2 separate regions of the Homo sapiens genome follow, and region 2 is linked to region 1. The links are contacts of gene promoters, found by promoter capture Hi-C in blood cells and fetal thymus (Javierre and others, 2016). All regions are on one chromosome and are shown on one strand. Each heading gives the region's core, a stretch centred on a gene start or on the middle of the fragment in contact. The rest is flanking DNA. Distances are from core to core; before and after follow the strand shown. Region 1 holds the start of UBL3 (ubiquitin like 3). Region 2 overlaps HSPH1 (heat shock protein family H (Hsp110) member 1).

Region 1 (3,974 bases), core at 702-3,201:
AAAATGTAACTTCACACTCACACAAGCCCAGCCCCAGCACTGTAAGGTTACACGGTTACTGTTAGTCAACCGACTCACAACCTTACCCTTTATAAACAAAACAAAGAAAGGCGTCAATAAACAACAGTACTTTTTGTTTCAAGTTCTCAACACTCAGTGATCGAGGCTCAATACTATGTTTCCTTAGCTTTATGTCTAATATGGAATCTACTATTAATAAATATCTGGCATTAAAAAGCCCTGGAATATTCATTGTAAGTACCAATACAGGGTCAGCCTACGTTTCTGAAAATCCCAAAATATCTTTATATTTCTGTTGCCATCCGTATTCAGACATTTCAAAAACCTCACAGCAAATTCTAACATACTTTTTCTTGAAGAGATGTGCATCCCTGTTCTTGAAAAATATCAAGTTCGTCCCTACTGCAATGACGATCTCGTCTGTGTCATAAAGCAAGATTCCCGTTTCCCTACCTATTCTCTCGTAGGGACACCCGTCCTCAGCTCTGCCCACTGTCCCTGACGTTTTCAGAAACGTTAAAATACTAGTGTTCGGAGGCTTCTAGCGAAGAGGGAGATGTTTTGTCCCCTCAAGCTACCATGATACATTTCCCTACTTCTCCACTATCTTCAATGCTTTAGAAAACACGACCAAATGAGAGAACCCATATTAAAAGCAGTACTTCCTAAAAGGGGGAAACCAGAAGCTCCAACTTCTCCAAATCGCTCAGCACAGTGGCTTTTCGACAGTCCCCAGCAAATCTTCGCCCCACGCCTGCCGTCTTTCCGATTAAATAAGATTGGAAACCACAATTAAATCAGTGTCATAACTTATCCGTCACTTACCATATCCGCCGGGACATTACTGGACATCTTGCCGTTTGATATACACCCAGATGTTTACGAAAAAAACAAACAAAGAAAAAAGAGCAGAAGTCTTCACGTTACAGAAATAAACCACGATTTTGACTGGTTCGTGATGTGCTTTCTCCCCCAAAAATAAAGTTATTTTGGAGCCAAAGTGCCGGTCAGGCCGAGGTTCTGGTTCGAAGAGGAACAATCCCCAGGAGCTGTGTGGCCGGAGCAGGAGGAAACTCCCGGGACAGCAGAGGCAGCCCCCGTCGTCGTCGTCGTCGTCAACAGCAGCAGCAGCCCCAGGACCGGCCGCGCCAGGTGGACCGAGCCGAGTGACACACGGACATGGAGAGGGGTGGGAGGGGGTTAAATGCGCCTTCCTCCTTTCCCAGCCCCGGCAATGATTCACACTTGCTCCCGAGTCAAGTCCTCATTAAGCAGGAGAAAAATGCCCCAGCGTGGATGTACACAGATAACTATGTAGCTACACATCGACGCGTGAGCCTTGAGTGGCGGCCGAGCGGTGGCCGGACGCTGGCCGCGGACCCTGCAGAGCCGCTGTCGGAGCGCCCGCGCGGACAGCGCGGGGAAACGGCTCAACTCGCGCCGCGGGGGCGAAGAGCCGGGCCGCGGAAACCCGCGCTCAAGGGCATTTAACTAGTTGGAAGCCAAAGCGAAAGACCGGAGCGGGGGACCGACAGCGCGGGGGTGCTCGGGGCCGGCCGGGACACTCCACAGCCCCTCTGGGCTCAGGCCGCGGGCGCCTCCGGACAGCAGCTGGGGTCGGGGCGCATCGTCTCCGGCTCCTCGCCACTCCTCTTCTGCCTCCGCCTTCCCCGCCGCCGCCTCCCCGGTCTCCGCCTTCCCTTCCCCTCCCCTCCCCGGCCTCGCGAGCTCCGGGCGACGCCGACTTCGGCTGGTCCCCGGAAGAGGCCGGGTCCTCCTTCTCCTCAGCCCGGGAATGGTTTCCTCTCAGAGCTTTGTTTCTCCTCCTCCTCCTTCACTTTTCAGTCCCACACGCCGCGGCCGCCTCCTGTCATCGCCTCTCAAACCAACATGGCGGCAGCGGCGGCGGCGGCGGCTGCCTGAGTGCGACTAAGGGAAACGGGGAGAGCACGGGCCCCCCCTCGCAGCAGCCGCCGCCCCCGTCCTCGTCCTCCCTCCGCGGACACCAAGTGCGTCACCACGGAGACCATTCCCTCGAGCATCACGGGAAGTGTAGTCTACGAGGGTGGGGGGGGGAGGGAGCCGCCGAACGCCTCCTCACCCAGCTCCGAAGCCACGCCCCCCATAGCAACAGTTGCGAGGAAAGGAAAGCTCCCTTTCCCTTGCTTTGGACAAGCTGCTGCCCAGGAGTTAAGTGATACCTGCTACCAGGAGTGCTGTGATCATGAGAATTGTTGGGAGAAAATAATTCTGCATAGAGAAATTCCCTTATGCACGATATGCACACAGAGCTAAAATATGCTGTACCTCCAAGCAGAATCATTCATTTTAATTACAGCACATTCTCCACATCCTGCAATCTCAATGCATTTTGTAGAGTGATTTCATCTAGGTCTCCTCAACATTACATTTTGAAGAACAAAAGCAATCATTGATTTCCAATAAGGTCACATAAGTTCAACAGGAACAAGGATCTCATTAAGCAGTGAGAATATTTGAACATGTGTTTCCTTGAAGACCCAGGGCAATAAAGCTACAATCTACTTAACTGAAATTACCAAAACTGTATTACATACAACAGTGTTATTATATCAAATCTGTATCAGGAAATAGCTACTACAAACTTCATGGGGATTCACCAGTTTACCCATCTGGACCCTAAATTCTATTCTATGTAACTCATAATGTAATTGAAAACCTATATGCCTTGCAGTGATTAGCAAATAGGAGAAAATAATGCCATTGTTGAGACACCATTCAGATGGACATTTGTGATTTCTGCATTTTGTTCCTAAATCTGAGGTCAACATCTGAATCCCTATTCATATCTCTTAGTCCTTTGACAGAGTACTTTAGAAAGGGCAGTCTCAATATGATGCCTATATATAAATGCCAATGAATTTAGAGTCTGAAAGCCACCTCTCCAACCTACAGCTGTGTGACCTCATCTGTAAAATGGTCTTGCCTACCTTCCGGGGTAAAGTAGGGGTAGTTATGAGGATGAGTTCATGCATGGGAAATAAATCACTTTGTAAATAATAATGCATCATTTGATATGAAATGTCACTACTCATTCTCTCATTCAGCAAACAAATGTGCCAGGCACTCTGCTAGGCACTAGGAGTTTAAAAATGAGTCACTGTAGCGAACAGCAGCATCATGTGGCAGAAATGCCAAGGTCTTGGGTTGGCAATGGGGGTTATTACATCCTTGTCTATAGGGCTGTTGAAAAGAGGCAGAATCCAGTCACTGTCCTCAGGGAGCTCATTGTCTAGAAGCCTACGTGATTCCCCACAGCAATCTCTCCAGTTGGGTTTCTCATCAGTTGGAAACCCACAGGACATTTAGAGTACCTGCCTCTTGAGTAGCCTGGGTGGAGAAATTCCAAACACTCCTAAGGGCCTATATCACCCTGAGGAAGATAGATCAAATTCTCCGAAAAACCAAAGGCCAGAAGAGAAGAGAGGCCCAAATCTCACTGTGATTAGGCTTCAGGACTTTGTCTAGATATTTCCAAGTCCATAGTTACGTGATTTTCCATGGCCTTTGTTACTTGGTTGCTCATTTGCAATGTTTAGCAACCACAGAGTCCCCCTACCCCTACACCAGCCCCCCAGGAAATAAGGGCAGGTGAAAATACTTCAATTGACCAATGAGCTCAGAAGGAATATTGGAGCACATTTTGAAAGCTCTAACTCACAGAGTTAGTCCCTCCACCATACCCTTGACTCCAACTTTTATCCAATGACCTCCCTGGCCATGGCACTGCCTGGCCATGGCACTGCCGGGCCTAAGTGCCACTGTAAGTAGAAAGGCAAGAGTTGCTGTTTGCTGCAGGTTACCACTGCCACCTTTACAAAAGGCAATGTCTTTCAAAAGTCGCTGTGTTTCCAATTACTCTTCTAAGAGGGGCTGAGACATTATTCTCAATAAAACTCATTATAACTCATCCC
Region 2 (3,974 bases), core at 1,038-3,537, 1.3 Mb after region 1:
GTTGTCCAAAATATTTGTAGATGCTTGAGAGAGAGACATGAGCAAGAGCAAAGGTGGATCTCTGCTCACCTTTCAAATCAGAACACTTCGTCCATCAGTTTCTCAGCTCACCAGGGGAAAAAAAATGTGGCAAAAAAAAAAAAAAGGAAGGGAGAGAGTGGGGAGGGAGAAGCCACTGACTTATAACTTAATTCTTTAATTTTGCCAGAGATTAAAACACTTCCCATCTTGCAAGGACAGCAGGAGAAATGTTAGTTCTTCTGCCTCATTCATTCATAAAGGCTTGTTGCTGACTGATCTCAGCCGGCCACGTTGCTCATACTATAGAGCAAAGACCATGCTGTATTTAAGTCCAAAAGCATACCCCACAACCTATCAAGAAGTGACCCAAGACACCTGGGTGAGCAGAATTTACCTTTTTGGTGTCCAAATAAAAGATGACTTTTGTCCATTTCAAGTACCCTTTGATAGTCTAACTAGTAATTGTCCACTGAAGGTAACAGGCTTGCTAGTGTTAAAAATTTAGGTTTTGTCACTACTGGTAAGCTACGTTTTAAAACTCCTAATACACTGGTTTCTCAACGGAGGGTAGAATTCTTTCACCTGTGAAAAGCTCCTGTGTTAAATGTACAAGCCTGATAGTGCAGCAACTAACTGTATTAGAATACTCACAAATGGAACCAGTCAAAATCTGTATTTTCAAAAAGTCTCACAAGAGATTTTGATTTCCAGTCAAGAACCTTTGCCGCTTCTGGCTAAAAATATCACTCAAATCTACTTTGTAATGCTCTGGAACACATGTTAATACAGTCCAGTAGAACACGGTCTCTAGTAACTAAAGAACAGCTTTCCCACATTTCATACTTAAAAGTAATACAAAGAACGCAAAAATGAAATAAAACACACTGCCTTGCTGAATTATACTTACTGAAATAACACAATCTGTTACTGGTTTCTTGAGGCTGTTTTCAGCAGTTTCCTTCAGCTTAGTCAACAACATGGCTGTTATCTGCTCCACACTAAATAGATGTTCTTCACCCATGTACATTACCTATATTGAAGGGAAAAAATGTTTTAAACATTGTAGTACTTTAAGCTACATGCCAATATTTAACTTCCAAAAATTAGCACACATTCCCTTCCACAAAATCTTTATTTTATTGTTGTAGTTGTTTTGGGAAGAAGGAAGAAAAGGAGGAAAAAGGGAAGGGGAAGGAGGGAAGGGGGAGAGAAAGGAAAAGAGAAAAAAAGAAAAAGGAAGAAAGAACTTCTACCTAAAGATGAAGAGGAGCGGAAGAAAGCTAGGGCAGATATACCCCACCCAAAATCTAAGTCAAAACATTAAAGAAGGTAGTAAATTTCCACTCTAACTGAAGAGATGAATCACTAGGATAAATATTATTGTGTGTTGATCACAAGACAGGAATACCTCTGCAAGTTTAAAAAAAGATTCCTGGTGTTACTACACTATTGCTCTCCAAACAACTGCAACTGGGCTGTCTCAGAACAGACTTTTGTTTGATACATGAACACAATGTCGATTTTTTTTCCAACATCAAATAAACCTAAATTTTACAATTGCCAAAAAGTCAGAAGAAACACAAATTAAGTTATAGCATATATATTACCATTTGAATAATATTCAAAGACAATTTAGCGTCTATCTACTATACTTTAAAAGGAGCTGAATAAAAAAAGAACAAAAAGACCACCTGGTGTAATTAAGAAATTTAAGTAATAACTCAAATAAGTTCGTATTTTTAAGTATTAATAAGTTGGTATTTTTCTAAGGTTGCTCAATTATATTACCTTTATTCCAACTCCACCATTTTTCAATGGAACCAAATCGTAACTCAAGTTTTCCTTCTCCTTTTGAATGAAGGGGTCATTGAATGCTCGGCCATGAAATCTTTTGAAGTTAGACACCGTATTGTTTGCATGAGTGATTTGCTGCAAAAAGAAGTTTGAGATTTTAATTTTTTTCTTTAATTTCACCACCTACCAGTAATTTTAGTAATTTTATTTATTCACTTTACAACTCAAACCAATCCTATGAGTGCACATAAGTTGCCCTGAGGCCCACCAATTTCACTGAATTTCCCATCTATGAACAGATTTTATTTATACTTTTTCCTTCTCCTATAGAAAATGCCAGAAAGTAAGCAGCAAGAGGGAACAAGAGGCAAAATAGTGTGACGACAGACTTTAAAGATTTCAAAATCTGCAAGATAAACTCAAAGACAGTGAAAACTATCACTAAAGCTCTGAACAAACACACTAGAATTTTATCACTGTTTCATTCCTTTTTTTCCCTGCTAAACTTGTGAGGTTTTATACCCAATGAATGAATAGATCTAGTAGCACTATAGCCAAATTATAATTTTGTTTAAAAAAGTTAATTTTTGGCCAGGCGCGGTGGCTCACGCCTGTAATCCCAGCACTTTGGGAGGCCAAGGCGGGTGGATCACGAGGTCAGGAGATGGAGACCATCCTGGCTAACACGGTGAAACCCCGTCTCTACTAAAAATACAAAAAATTAGCCGGGCGTGGTTGCGGGCACCTGCAGTCCCAGCTACTCGGGAGGCTGAGGCAGGAGAATGGCATGAACCCAGGAGGCGGAGCTTGCAGTGAGCCAAGATCGTGTCACTGCACTCCAGCCTGGGCGACAGAGCGAGATTCCGTCTCAAAACAAAAAAAAAAGTTAATTTTTATAGCTGGGCATGGCAGCACATGCCTGTAATCCCAGCTAATTGAGAGGCTGAGGCAGGAGAATCGCTGGAACCTGGGAGGCAGAAGTTGCAGTGAGCCAAGATAGTGCCATTGCACTCTAGCTTGGGTAACAAGGGTGAAACTCATTCTCAAAAAAAAAAAAAATTAAAGTTAATTTTTATAGTCTAATAAATTGCTAAGCGGCCAGGATAAACACTCTGTGCCAGAAAATGCATGGATCGCTACCTTTCCTAGCAATAGCATGAAATGCTAGTTATCTACACCAAAAAGTAGAAGGCAGAAGAGTAATTCAACAAGTTTCTAAGTGACCTAATGTTTTCAACTGCATGTGCGTATTCTGAAGACTTGAGAGCCATGGTTTTTAAAAACAAGAAATTGAACTGCTATCTTACACAACTGGCGCACGTTTGTTAAACTGTTGTAAAAGATGGTGTTTTTTTAATCCACCGTTTTGGTCAAATATTTTAGGTAAACTCTAGATTGAAAAGCCCCACTTCAGAGCACATTTCACTCAAGGGTACCTCATTTGAAACAAGAAATAACTGTAAGATTGAAAACTAAGACTTCTGAAATTATTAGCTTAAAAATACCAAAACAGTATATTATTTACTTTTTCTCTTACCTAATTTTTTGAATAAAGGGAAGAATACAGTTAGCTTGGCAGTACTAGTTTTCAAACAATATAGAATTCAAGCAAGTTTAGGTCTTAAAATTCCTTATGTGTCTAAAACTGAGATGAAGTATGTCTAGTAGTATACTGGCCAAATATGAGTCTCAACAGATTCTTCTCAAGTAATCACAAGGATGCAACAGAATTTTAGGTCTAGGCTATCAATATCCTCAATGGGCACATTTAAAGGATTGTTACAACTAAAGTCCCACTATCCTTTTGAACATATTTTGAGTGTGCCTATTTCTCCTTTCCTTTTTCACCCCTTTTAGTTATCTCTCTCTTCCAATGTAACAAGGAAATAAAGTTAAATCCAACCTACATATTCAAAGGATTAGAAAACATGAAACCATTTTCTAATGAAAGCAGATTCATAAGTTTGATAAAGTGCCAATTTCTTATTAAACATAAGCATTTTAAGAGATGTTTTTGTTTTCAAATCTGACCTGATTTTTTAATAGGTCAGTACTAAATACATTCCATAATATATAATACAGTACTCAATCTAATCCAAAATTTTCTTTCTTAGCAATCTATTTTCTGTATTTAGAAAAATGTTTTTTATTTCAAAGAG

What was found. Contacts are between HindIII fragments. The CHiCAGO score rates a contact against its expected background, and 5 or more counts as called.
Region 2: a contact is called between a fragment that was not itself captured here and the fragment with the promoter of UBL3 in region 1, in 1 of 17 cell types (neutrophils). The highest score is 5.6, in neutrophils.

The regions. Positions count from the first base shown.
Region 1 is chr13:29,848,666-29,852,639 of GRCh38, forward strand. It overlaps UBL3 (ubiquitin like 3), which reads right to left and starts at 1,952. Exons shown (of 5, transcript NM_007106.4): 1 at 847-1,952. The coding sequence starts at 873. RefSeq lists enhancers at 518-587, 1,058-1,127, 1,798-1,867 and silencers at 1,428-1,727, 1,998-2,107. The HindIII fragment of the contact is 5,102 bases long and covers 1-3,974 here.
Region 2 is chr13:31,153,705-31,157,678 of GRCh38, forward strand. HSPH1 (heat shock protein family H (Hsp110) member 1) reads right to left here. Exons shown (of 18, transcript NM_006644.4): 3 at 1,810-1,950; 4 at 929-1,051. Among named protein-coding and RNA genes, the nearest start is that of HSPH1, 6.2 kb to the right of the region's middle. The HindIII fragment of the contact is 8,334 bases long and covers 1-3,974 here.